3 separate regions of the Homo sapiens genome follow, and regions 1 and 3 are each linked to region 2. Evidence: promoter capture Hi-C in human tissues and cell types (Jung and others, 2019). All regions are on one chromosome and are shown on one strand. The core of a region is centred on a gene start or on the middle of the fragment in contact, and the rest is flanking DNA. Distances in the headings are between cores, read along the strand shown.

Evidence for each region. Contacts are between HindIII fragments. The study calls those that stand out against the background at their distance.
Region 1: a contact is called between the fragment with the promoter of SLC35E1 here and the fragment with the promoter of ANO8 in region 2, in 1 of the 25 tissues and cell types used here (dorsolateral prefrontal cortex).
Region 3: a fragment that was not itself captured here is called in contact with the fragment with the promoter of ANO8 in region 2 in 1 of the 25 tissues and cell types used here (dorsolateral prefrontal cortex).

The regions. Positions count from the first base shown.
Region 1 is chr19:16,570,929-16,574,596 of GRCh38, forward strand. SLC35E1 (solute carrier family 35 member E1) reads right to left here and starts at 1,487. Exons shown (of 6, transcript NM_024881.5): 1 at 1,016-1,487; 2 at 584-654. The coding sequence starts at 1,436. It overlaps LOC105372295 (a long non-coding RNA gene), which reads left to right and starts at 1,622. Exons shown (of 3, transcript XR_936360.3): 1 at 1,622-1,880. RefSeq lists silencers at 854-983, 1,144-1,253, 1,384-1,603 and enhancers at 1,522-2,396, 1,704-1,793. The HindIII fragment of the contact is 29,713 bases long and covers 1-2,886 here.
Region 2 is chr19:17,333,416-17,337,045 of GRCh38, forward strand. It overlaps ANO8 (anoctamin 8), which reads right to left and starts at 1,440. Exons shown (of 18, transcript NM_020959.3): 1 at 1,150-1,440; 2 at 275-385; 3 at 7-139. The coding sequence starts at 1,255. It also overlaps a transcript of GTPBP3 not described here. RefSeq lists a silencer at 943-1,382 and an enhancer at 3,107-3,630. The HindIII fragment of the contact is 8,300 bases long and covers 1-3,630 here.
Region 3 is chr19:17,953,334-17,956,802 of GRCh38, forward strand. It overlaps a transcript of KCNN1 not described here. Among named protein-coding and RNA genes, the nearest start is that of KCNN1, 12 kb to the right of the region's middle. The HindIII fragment of the contact is 4,437 bases long and covers 1-3,469 here.

The DNA.
Region 1 (3,668 bases), core at 237-2,736, 760 kb before region 2:
CTATTAAAAATACAAAAAAATTAGCCAGGTGTGGTAGTGCACGTCTGTAGTCCCAACTACTTGAGAGGCTGAGGCAGGAGAACTGCTTGAACCTGGGAGGCGGAGGTTGCAGTGAGCTGAGATTGTGTCACTGGACTTCAGGCTGGGCAAGAGTAAAACTCCGTCTCAAAAAAAAAAAAAAAAAAGTGAACACCTAACCGACAGCGTTCTGATCCATCCATCCCTAGTCCCACTGGAAAGGCCACACATGGGGTGTATGGCCAAGATGTGACCAACCCATCACCTACCAGCAAACCCAGGTAGGGAATCAAAACGGGGAGGAAAATTGGATCTGAAAGGGACAACAGTGTTCCTAAGACCACACAGCAGAGATCACAGAGGGACACATACTCCACACACCACTGCTCACAGGGTGATTCTAGAACTTGAGTAGTAAAAGGCCACTGGAGACCTCTACACTGACTTCCCTATTTGACGGGAAGCCAGGCAGCCTGCAGACCAGGATCCTGACCACGTCACCAGTTGGCAACAGGGAGGAACCCCCTGGAGCTCCCATCTGCCCAGAGTCCCTGCCCGGGGTTACCTTGGTGCTCTGCTTCTCCTTCATAATGATCCGGGACAGGAGGACCACCCAGATGGGCATGGTGGCCTTGACTGCAAAGAGAGGGATGGGCACTCAGGGGGCTGCCTGAATTTCAGGGCCCAACCTGTTCCACCTCCACGGCGGGATGGGAGGGCCTGGCAGCCCCTCACACCTCTTCGCCCCTTCTCTTTCGGTAGGGCTTCCTCCTGCCACGGCTGTTGTGGTCTGTCCTGCTTACCTCTCAGCTCTCTTCTCAGCTCCTCTTCTCCCTGAGAACCCCGTGCGTGTCCCTCCCCTACCAAACCCTTGGCAGCCCCTCTGCTGACTTCTCAGTCCGGCGGGACGCGCCCCGGGCGGCGCACTCCTATCCATGCGCCCAAACCCGAAGCGGCGGGCCCGGCCGCCGCCCCCGAGGCCGGGCGCGGAACCTACCGGTGTGTGCATAGGACACGGGCACCTTCCAGATGCTGACGTGCGCTGACACGGACGCGAAGTACTTGCCGAAGGCGAGCGGTAGCACGTAGCGCGGGTAGAAGCGCGGCGGCAGCAGCGGGCCGGACGACGGATGCGGACTGGGTCCGGGGCCCGAGACGGGCGGCGCGGGGGGCACGCGCCAGGCGCGCAGCAGCGGCGGGAGCCCAGCGCACAGAGCCAGGATGTGGCACAGCGACACGGTCACCGGGAACGGGAAGGCGCTCAGGATCACCTTGTTGACCACGTTGCCGCCCGCGCTCAGCGCGTACCACAGCAGGCACAGCGCCGCCACCCGCGCGCCCTCGCGCGCCCCACCACTGCTGCTCGCTGCGCCCGGGCCCCCCGCGCCGTGGCCCGCGCCCACCGCGGCCGCCGCCATCCTGCCCGAGCGGCCGCCCCTTCCAGCCCGTCCGACGGCCCGACGCCGGGCGGGGGCGGGGCTGGGCGGGGGGGCAGGCGCCCCGGTCTACGCCGTTTCCCATTGGTCGCTGCCTCCTCGCGTCATCCCTCCGCGCCGGCCGACGCGCCAGCCACCACGTCTCGAGTGCAGGCCCAGTCCACTGTAGATGCGCTTCCGGCGGAGCCGAGGCCGGAAGCGGAAGAAGGGGACACAGACCTGCGTCCAAGCTGTGCCACCTGAGACGTGGGCGGTCCCAGTGACCGGGAGCCGGAGCTCGAACGGGACGGGCGAACAGAAGCGCGGAGGGCTTCGCAGCGTCGGCGTCTGTGCGTGGGCCAAACATCAGGGCCTCGACCAGGGATACAAGGGCAACCGCTAACTAGATTCCTGATTCCTGATGGCTGGCGGCGGCTGACACCAAAGGTAAAAGGCCTTTTAGGGAAAGAAACCATTTGTGAAAAGCTCTTGGGCTAAACTCGCTCTGCAAACTGGGGGCGCACGCTCGTGGCCAAACTCTGGCAGTGGGACTATCCCGGAGCACCCGATCCCTGGAATCATGTTCTGGAAACCACCGCGACGTGCGCAGTTCTCGGGCGTGGCCCTGGTATCATCCCACTGAATCCTAGGAACGCGGTGCGGTAGGTATCACTGTCCGCATTTCACAGACCGAAGTCCAGAATGGGGAAGCGACTTGTCTTAGGCTTCCTGGCCACACTGGGGACCGTGGTCATGGTAGCGTCCTTGGACACCTGTCTCCAAGGCTCTGCAGAAGGGGGAGGTGCCGGGCCCTGACGGCTGATGTCCAAGGACCAGCCGGGATGGACCAGCCCCAGGAGGCCCCAGTGGAGGAAAACAGGACGAGGTTTTCAGTAAGATGATCTTATACTAATTCAAGGGCTATAATTTGTTCTCCACATCGTGTGCCTCCAACTTTTTCGGGGAAAGGGTGTTAAAATTCCGTTACAGTGTTTTTACTTGTCAAATTAGAAGCAGCAACCGGCTGGGTGCAGTGAGTCAAGCTTGGAATCCCAGCACTTTGGGAGGCCAAGGTGGGCGGATTGCTTGAGCTCAGGAGTTGGAGATCGTGGCATCGATAACATGGCAGAACCTCATCTTTGCAAAAAATACAAAAATTAGCCAGGCGTGGTGGCGCACGCCTGTGGTACCCACTACTAGGGAGACTGAGGTGGGTGGATCGGCTTGAGCCCAGGTCAAGGTTCCAGTGAGCTATGATGGCGCCACTGCACTGCAGCCTGGGTGACAGAGCGAGACCCAGTCTCAAAGAAAAGTAGAAAGCAGCAACCCAACTTGGCTCCCCAAATGTTGGAAGGTATCTTAGCTTATCCTTGCATTCTCAAAGGCCCTAGGCCCTTCTGGATACATGGACACAGGCATGGTAGTCCCTGCAGGCAGGGGTAGTGGGGAGCTGCAACCTATCCCAAAACTCTAGAGATGCTGATAGGAGGCCAAGCTCTGCACCCTAATATCCTCCAGCTGTACCCTCTGTGGATCAGAGTAAAGTCACATCCTTGGGACACCATGTCTCAGCAGAGCTGTTAAACATAGGCACAGTGAAATTAGGAAAGTATAACTATAGGCACCCTACAGCACAGCTGAGTGTCAGATACTTCCACTGACACACTGACATGCTTTGTGTTTTAGTTCTCACAACTCTGGGGTATTCTCACCCCCCAAATGGGGACATGTGCACAGGAGTGAAGAGATGAGCTCAGAGCCACACAGCTGGTGGGTGGTAGGCCTGGGTTCAACCTCATCCTGCCTTCAAAGCCACTTTGCCCATGGCCTTTTGTTGGGGAGGGGAGTGTGTTCTGCACCAAGCTTTTGCCAGGAATCCCTGCTAGCTCTCAAACTGGCTCTGGACTGACTGTAGTCTTACAGGCTGGAAGGAACCTTTGGTTTGCCCTGTGAGACTGCATGTCTTAAGGTGTAGCTGTTTCTTCATTTGTGAAATTAAGCAGATATGGGTAAGATGACCTATTCCAAAGTGAAAAACTGGAAAACCAAAGTCTTAGCCTACAGTTTCAGGGACGAGGGGGAACTAAAAGATGAGCACTTTATAGTCAAGGGAGAAAAATTTTTTTGGAGTCAGCACCAACCAGCTAATAAGGCAGCTGGGGGCCAGGGCCATGGGGTGGCCTTTCAGACACACACACACAGCTCTGAGCCTCTGGGCCATACCTTGTAAGAACT
Region 2 (3,630 bases), core at 190-2,689:
ACTCGCCTCTCATACGTGGCGGTGACAAAGAAGGCGTAGGCACGCGTGTGGCGGTGGTGGCGGACTTGCACGATGAGCTCGGGAATGCCCACGCGGATGTGGTTCAGCAGCCATAGCAGCGTGTGGTCATCGGTCGTGTCTGCCAAGGGGCACAGGGACCGATGGCTCCTGCCACGAGGGGGCCCAAGGCCTCCTACGTATTCCCGTTCTGGGAAGCCGAGCTCAGGAGAGCCGCATCTGGGCACTGGGCGGGCGGGCGGGCGGGCTTGGGTACCTGGGAAGGTCATCAGCACGTCGCAGTTCTCTGTAGGCACCGTCTTCATCCACGCCTTGTGGGACACCAGGTAGCGACCAGCCTGCAGGAGCCGCTTTCCGAAAAGCTTATCTAGGGGGCGGCGTAGCAGGCCCGGGTCAGGCCACTCTGGGATCCGGACCCGGCCTCCAGTCTTGGCTCCTCCTGCCCCCGCCAGGGCTCCTCACCACTCCACCTGGCATTCAAGGCCCCGGGAGCTCTGGGCTTGGCTTATTTTCCTCCCTCCACGTCCTTGTACCAGCCAGGCCTTCCTCCAGAAATGCCCTTCCCCCCAGATCCTCCCTTACAAATCTTACTCATTCTTGAGGCCCAGCTCCGCCTCCAAAACCACAATCGATGGGGCGCTCACTAGCAGCCCTGAGCGCTTCACCACATTATGACAGCGCCGTCCTTGCAGCAGCCCCAGGGACTAGGTGCGGTTCTTACCCCCATTTCACAGGTGAGGAAACTGAGGCCCAGAGCGTTTAAGTCACGCGCCCAAGGTCACACAGTCAAGCTGGGATTTGAACCCAGGACCGTATGATTCTGTATTCTTCGCGGAGAGGCTCTCTCAAGCACATCCCTGGCCCGCCGCGATCCCGCAGCCCGGGGGTGGCAGGGCGCAGCCCAAGCCTGGGGCTCTCGGAGGGGCGTGTCCGCGTCTCCGCGCCGGGACCCCAGCCCGAAGCACCGTCCCAGCCCCGCCCGCCGGGCCGCAGCCGCAGTGCCGGGAGGAGCCGGCCCCTCGTCCAGACACCACGCCAGGTTACGTTTGACCCTGATCCTCCTCCCCGTGTAGTTGACGCGGGCTCCCCAGGCACCTGCAACCCTGTCTGGTCCAGCCGCCGCACACATACCCAGAACTCCGGACGCCGGGGCTGCAGGCTCGCCCTCCGGCGGGGGCCTCTTGCCACGCTCGCCCTCCAGGGACGTGCCCCCGGCGCCGGAGGCGGCCTCGGCCATGGCGAGGACAGGTCAGGTCAGGGGCTACGGACGGCCCGGGCGACGGGGAGCCGCGGGCTCATGGGGCCGGTGCAGCCGCGGAGCGCGCGGGAGGAGGAGACAAAGGCCGCGCCCGCCCGCGCCGGCCTCGGTCCTCGCTCGCCCGAGCGCTGCTTCTCGTCCCCGCCCGAGCCGAACCTCGATTCTCCTTCCCGGCCCGATGCACGTCACTCTAGGGTTCTCAGCTGAGTTCGCCCGCCTAGTTCTTTGGTTCGCGTCTCCGCCCGTGTTGTTTTCTGGGTTTCCTTCTCGCCCGCCTACCTCGCTCCCTGCTGCTGGTCCCCGCCCGCACTGATGGTGCATTCTCCAACTTGTCCCCACCCATGCTTTCTTCTGGTCCCCGCCTCGGAGCCTCAGTTTCCCCATCTGCAAACTCCGGACCCTGGAGACGCTGTTTGGAATGTGAGATGGGCGTAAGTTGACTAAGGGAGGACGTGGGAGGGGCGGGCCGGTTGGGGAAGATTCCTGGTGACAATAACTTCAACCACCCCAGTAGGGCTGTGATACATAATTACAGCAAGCCCTGCTTAGGAACTTTGCACGCACCATTTGGCTGCCTAGAACACTCCTCATGCACTCTTCGTCCGGTTAACACCGACTCCCTTCAGGATGTAACCTCGGAGAGGATCCCATAGAGTTGTCAAGTTTAGCAAATAAAAATACAGTCCGTCTAGTTAAATGTAAATTTCAGATAAAAGAATAAATGTTAGCTGGGCGGGGCGCACCTGTAATCCCAGCTACTTGGGAGGCTGAGGCAGGAGAATCGCTTGTGCTCAGGAGGTCAAGGCTGCAGTGAGCTGAGATCACACCCACTGCACTGCATCCTGGGCGACAGAACGAGACCCTGTCTCAAATACATATATATACATACATACATAAATGTTTCTATGTCCTATGTCTACATGGGACATACTAGTACTAAAAAATTATTCATTGTTTATTTGAAATTCACATTTAGCTGGGCGACCTGGGTTTTACCTGGCATTTGGCCAACCCCTGACTATTCTGAGTAGCTCAGTCTGTTAGACTGAAAGCCCAGCGAGGGTAGGAACGAGGGGCCAGGTCTGGTTCTCAATGCGAGCACACAGTAGGCGCTTGCTGTACGCTTGTTACAGATGTAACAACTAGCTTGTTACAGATGTAATAACTAGCTTGTTACAGATGTAACAACTAGAGAATGGCAGATGAAATATAAATATGTCATCATTTGTTCCTATTTTACAACTTAAAATATTAAAGCCTCGGCCGGGCGCAGTGGCTCACGCCTGTAATCCCAGCATTTTGGGAGGCCAAGGCGGGTAGATCACCTGAGGCAAGGAGTTCGAGACCAGCCTGACCAACATGGCCAAACCCTGTCTCTATTAAAAATACAAAAAATTAGCCAGGCATGGTGGCGCACGCCTGTAGTCCCAGCTACTTGGGAGTCTGAGGCAGGAGAATCGCTTGAACCTGGGAGGCGGAGGTTGCAGTGAGTCTAGATCGCGCCACTGAACTCCAGCCTGGGCGACAGAGCGAGACCCCGTCTCAAAAAAAAAAAAAAAAAAAAAAAAAAGCTTGGGCAACGTAGTGAGATCCCCGTCTCCACCAAAAAAACGAAAACAAAACAAACAAACAAAAACAACAAACAAAAAGAAACACCGAAAAGTTAGACTGGCATGGTGGCTCGCGCCTGTGGTTCCAGCTACTCAGGAGGCTGAGGCGGGCGGATCCCTTGAGCCCAAAAGTTGGAGGTTGCAAGAGCCGTGATCGCGCCACTGCACTCCAGCCTGGGCGACAGAGTGAGACCCTGTCTCAAAAATAAAATAAAATAAAATAATAAAGTAAATAAAAATATTGAGCAGGGCGAGGTAAGGGGGTATTAGAACTCTATTCTGTCAGACAGATTTTTCTTAACACGCAAGTGCGCCGCCCGCCCGCTCTGATCCAGAACCAGAGAATCCGCCATGCGAAGGCGCTCCCGGAGACCCCGCCCAGCCAGTGCCTGGAATTCCACCATCAGCGCTTTATTCCGAGTTTCAGTGCTGTCCTGGGTTAACCTGAAAGCAATCTCCGAGGCTCCCCTTTCTGGCTTTCGGGGAGCCAGAGACTGACCGGACACTTGGCTCTGCAGGTGCAGACCTGGACCAGAGAGACAGAGAGCCAAGGAAGTCCACAGTGGAGAGAGGGCTGTGCTGGGGGTTCCAGGAAGACTTCCTGGAGGAGGGGATCTTGGAGCTAGGCCTTGAAGACGAGTTTGTCAAATGAGGAAGGGCATCCGAAGCCGAGGGAACGGCAGAAGGGAACGCTGGGGAGGGGAGAGAATCTGGAGAGTTCCGGAAAAAGCAAGTAGGACTCTT
Region 3 (3,469 bases), core at 475-2,974, 620 kb after region 2:
CCTCCCAAGGCTAGGGTCAGCACCAAGTCCCCCTGGCTGGAACAGGTGGCCCCTGAGCCATCCAAGGTGACCATTGCCCCGATCCCAGGTCCTGGTGAGAGAAAGGGCAGCTGGGGGTTTCCCCTTCAGTCCTGTTCTGGGGTCTGGCATTGCCCCTGCCCTCCATGGGGTGTCCTTTTCTGCCCTCTTCTCCAGGATCGGACTTGGGTACCATGTGCTTCTATAAGCCCTCTGCAGACAGCACTAAATAGATGGAGGGAGCACGCCAAGGGAGCTACAGGCTCCCAGGGCAGCTTCAGAGCTGGGGAGCAAGAGTTCAGCTGCTCTGCCAAGCGAGGTGGTTCACAACTGTAATCCCAACACTTTGGAAGGGCGAGGCAAGCTCAGGAGTTCGAGACCAGCCTGGGCAACGTACTGAAACCCTGTCTCTACAAAAAATTAAAAAAATTAGCCAGGTGTAGTGGTGCACACTTGTAGTCCAAGCTACTTGGGGGCCGAAGGTGGGAGGATCGCTTGAGCCCGGGAAGTCAAGGCTGCAGTGAGCCATGTTCATGCGACTGCACTCCAGCCTGGGTGACAAAATGTCACCTCCCTGAATGTCACCCACCTAGATCTCCCCATGGCGAAGGAACTAGGGGCAATGTGAGGGGGTGAGCAGGAACAGCATTGGGAAAGACAGATAAAGCATTCAGTGTCTAGCTTCTGGAGCCCAGTGAAAGGAGGAGTGGCCTTAGGGAGGGGACATGGAAGAGGTGGGGCTAGCCCAGGGCCCCATTGGAGTGATAAAGCCACTGTTCTTAAGCTTCCTGAAAGCTTAGGAGATGACCCAGCTCAGCAACACCAAGCCAGAGCGCAGATCTGCTGTAAAGACCATTGTACGTAATAGGCTGAAGCAGGTGAATCACCTCTGGCCAGGAGTTCAAGTCCAGCCTGGCCAACACAGCAAAACCCCATCTCTACTAAAAATACAAAAAGTAGCCGGGCATGGTGGCAGGCACCTGTAATCCCAGATGCTTGGGAGGCTGAGGCAGGAGAATTGTTTGAACCCTGGAGGCGGCAGTTGCAGTGAGCTGAGATCACATCACTACACTCCAGCCTGGGTGACAGAGCAAGACTCTGTCTCAAAAAAATAAAAAATAAGAAAGACCACTGTAGTCCGGGAGCTGTCTGCACCCTACTCTTTTGGGTCCCCGCCTCCACCCCGCACCCCCTGTCTGATCATTACAGATCTCAAAGGGACAGGAAAGGCAGCAGCAGCCACCCTCTCTCCCAGTCAAGTGGTCACCAGCAGGACTGAAGGGGACAGCCCCTTTGCAGTGGCTCGGCGAGGAGACCCCTGCACCCTAGGGTGAGTGAATCCCAGACTTGGGTCGCCTTTGGGGGTGGGGGTGGCTCAGGGGTTGGATAGAAAAATTGGTAACTGGGCAGGCTAGGTGGCTCACGCCTGTAATCCCAGCACTTTGGGAGGCTGAGGCAGGTGGATCACTTGAGGTCAGGAGTTTGAGGCCAGTTTGGCCGACATGGCGAAACCCCGTGTCTACTAAAAATACAAAAATTGCCCGGGGATGGTGGTGGGCACCTGCAATCCTAGCTACTTGGGAGGCTGAGGCAGGAGGACCACTTGAATCCGGGAGGCAGAGGTTGCAGTGAGCCAAGATCGCGCCACTGCACTCCAGCCTGGGCGACAGAGCAAAGCTCTGTTTCAAAAAAAAAAAAAAAAAGGTGACCTGAGGAAAAAGTGCCAGCTTTTGAAATAATAACAAGCTGGGTACAGTGGCGTGCACCTGTGGTCCTAGCTACTCGGAAGGCTAAGGTGGGAGTATCGAGTCCAGGAGTTCGAGGCTGCAGTGAGCTATGATCACGCTTGTGAATGGCCACTGCACTCCAGCCTAGGCGACAGAGCGAGACCCCCATCTCTTTAATTAAAAAAAAAAAAAAGAAAAAAGGCCAGACGTGGTGGCTTACGCTTGTAATCCCAGCACTTTGGGAGGCCAAGGCAGGCAGATCACCTGAGGTCAGGAGTTCGAGACCAGCCTGGCCAACAGGGTGAAACCCCCATCTCTACTAAAAATACAAAATTAGCCAGGCATGGTGCTGCATGCCTGTAATCCCAGCTACTTGGGAGGCTAAGGCAGGAGAATCACTTGAACCCAGGAGGCGGAAGTTGCAGTGAGCCGAGATTGTGCCATTGCACTCCAGCCTGGGCAACAAGAGTGAAACTCCATCTCCAAAAAAAAAAAAAAAAAGAAAGAAAGAAAAAAAATAATAATATAATTATTATTATATCATATATATCATGATGATGATAGCAAGGACTATGCTTTCTAGAGCCTCCGGGGAGTTACTGTCCACTTTCTTTGATCACTGGAGTTGGGGAAACTATTCAGAGAGGCCAGATGACCTAGAAGTGGGGTGTTGAGCCAGGTTGGAAGAGCTCTGTCCCACCACTCCCGCCCCCGCCCCCCACACACAGCCTCTACTTCCCGGCTCTCGTGGTCTCGCTGGAGACAGCCCCCAGGGTAGGCCAGCTCTGTGGAAGGCAGCTCCTGTGCTCCTTTCTCCAGTGAACTTTTTTTTTTTAGTTTTGTTTTGTTTTGTTTTGTTTGTTTGTTTTGAGACAGAGTCTGACTCTGTCGCCCAGGCTGGAGCGCAGTGGCATGATCTTGGCTCACTGCAACCTCCACCCTCCACCCCACCGGGTTCAAGCGATTCTCCTGCTTCAGCCTCCCAAGTAGCTGGGATTACAGGCATGCGTCACCACGCACAGCTAATTTTTGTGTTTTCAGTAGAGATGGGGTTTCCCCATGTTGGCCGGGCTGGTCTCGAACTCCTGACCTCAGGTGATCCACCTGTCTTGGCCTCCCAAAGTGCTGGGATTGCAGGCGTGAGCCACTGAGCCAGGCCTCCTTGGTGAACACTGACTGACATCCAGGGTCAGCACTAAGCTGCCCATGGGGGTGTGGAGAAAACAGAGGTGGTGGTCATTTAGTCAATCAACAAACACTGAGCAAGCTAGCTACTGTCTGCCAGGCCCTAGGCTGGATGCTGGGATGCAATAAGGACAAAGGCCAGCCCAGGTCAGCCCTTGTGGAATTTCATGGGGCATCAATTAAGCTTAAGTGTTTTGTGCTGGATACAGTGGCTGATGCCTGTGATCCCAGAACTTTGGGAGGCCAAGACAGGAGGATCACTTGAGCTCAGGAGCTTGAGACCAGCCTGGGCAATGTAGCAAGAACCCATCTCTACAATTTTTTTTTTTTTAAATTAACCAGTGGGGTGGTGCATGTGTGTGGTCCCAGCTACTCTGGAGGCTGAGATGGGGGGATCACTTGAGCCCAAGAGGTCGAGGATACAGTGGGCTATGATTGAACCACTGTACTGTAGTCTGGGTGACAGTGAGACTCTGTCTCAGAAAGAAAGCGAGAAAGAGAGAAAGGGGGCCAGGTGTGGTGGCTCATGCCTGTAATCC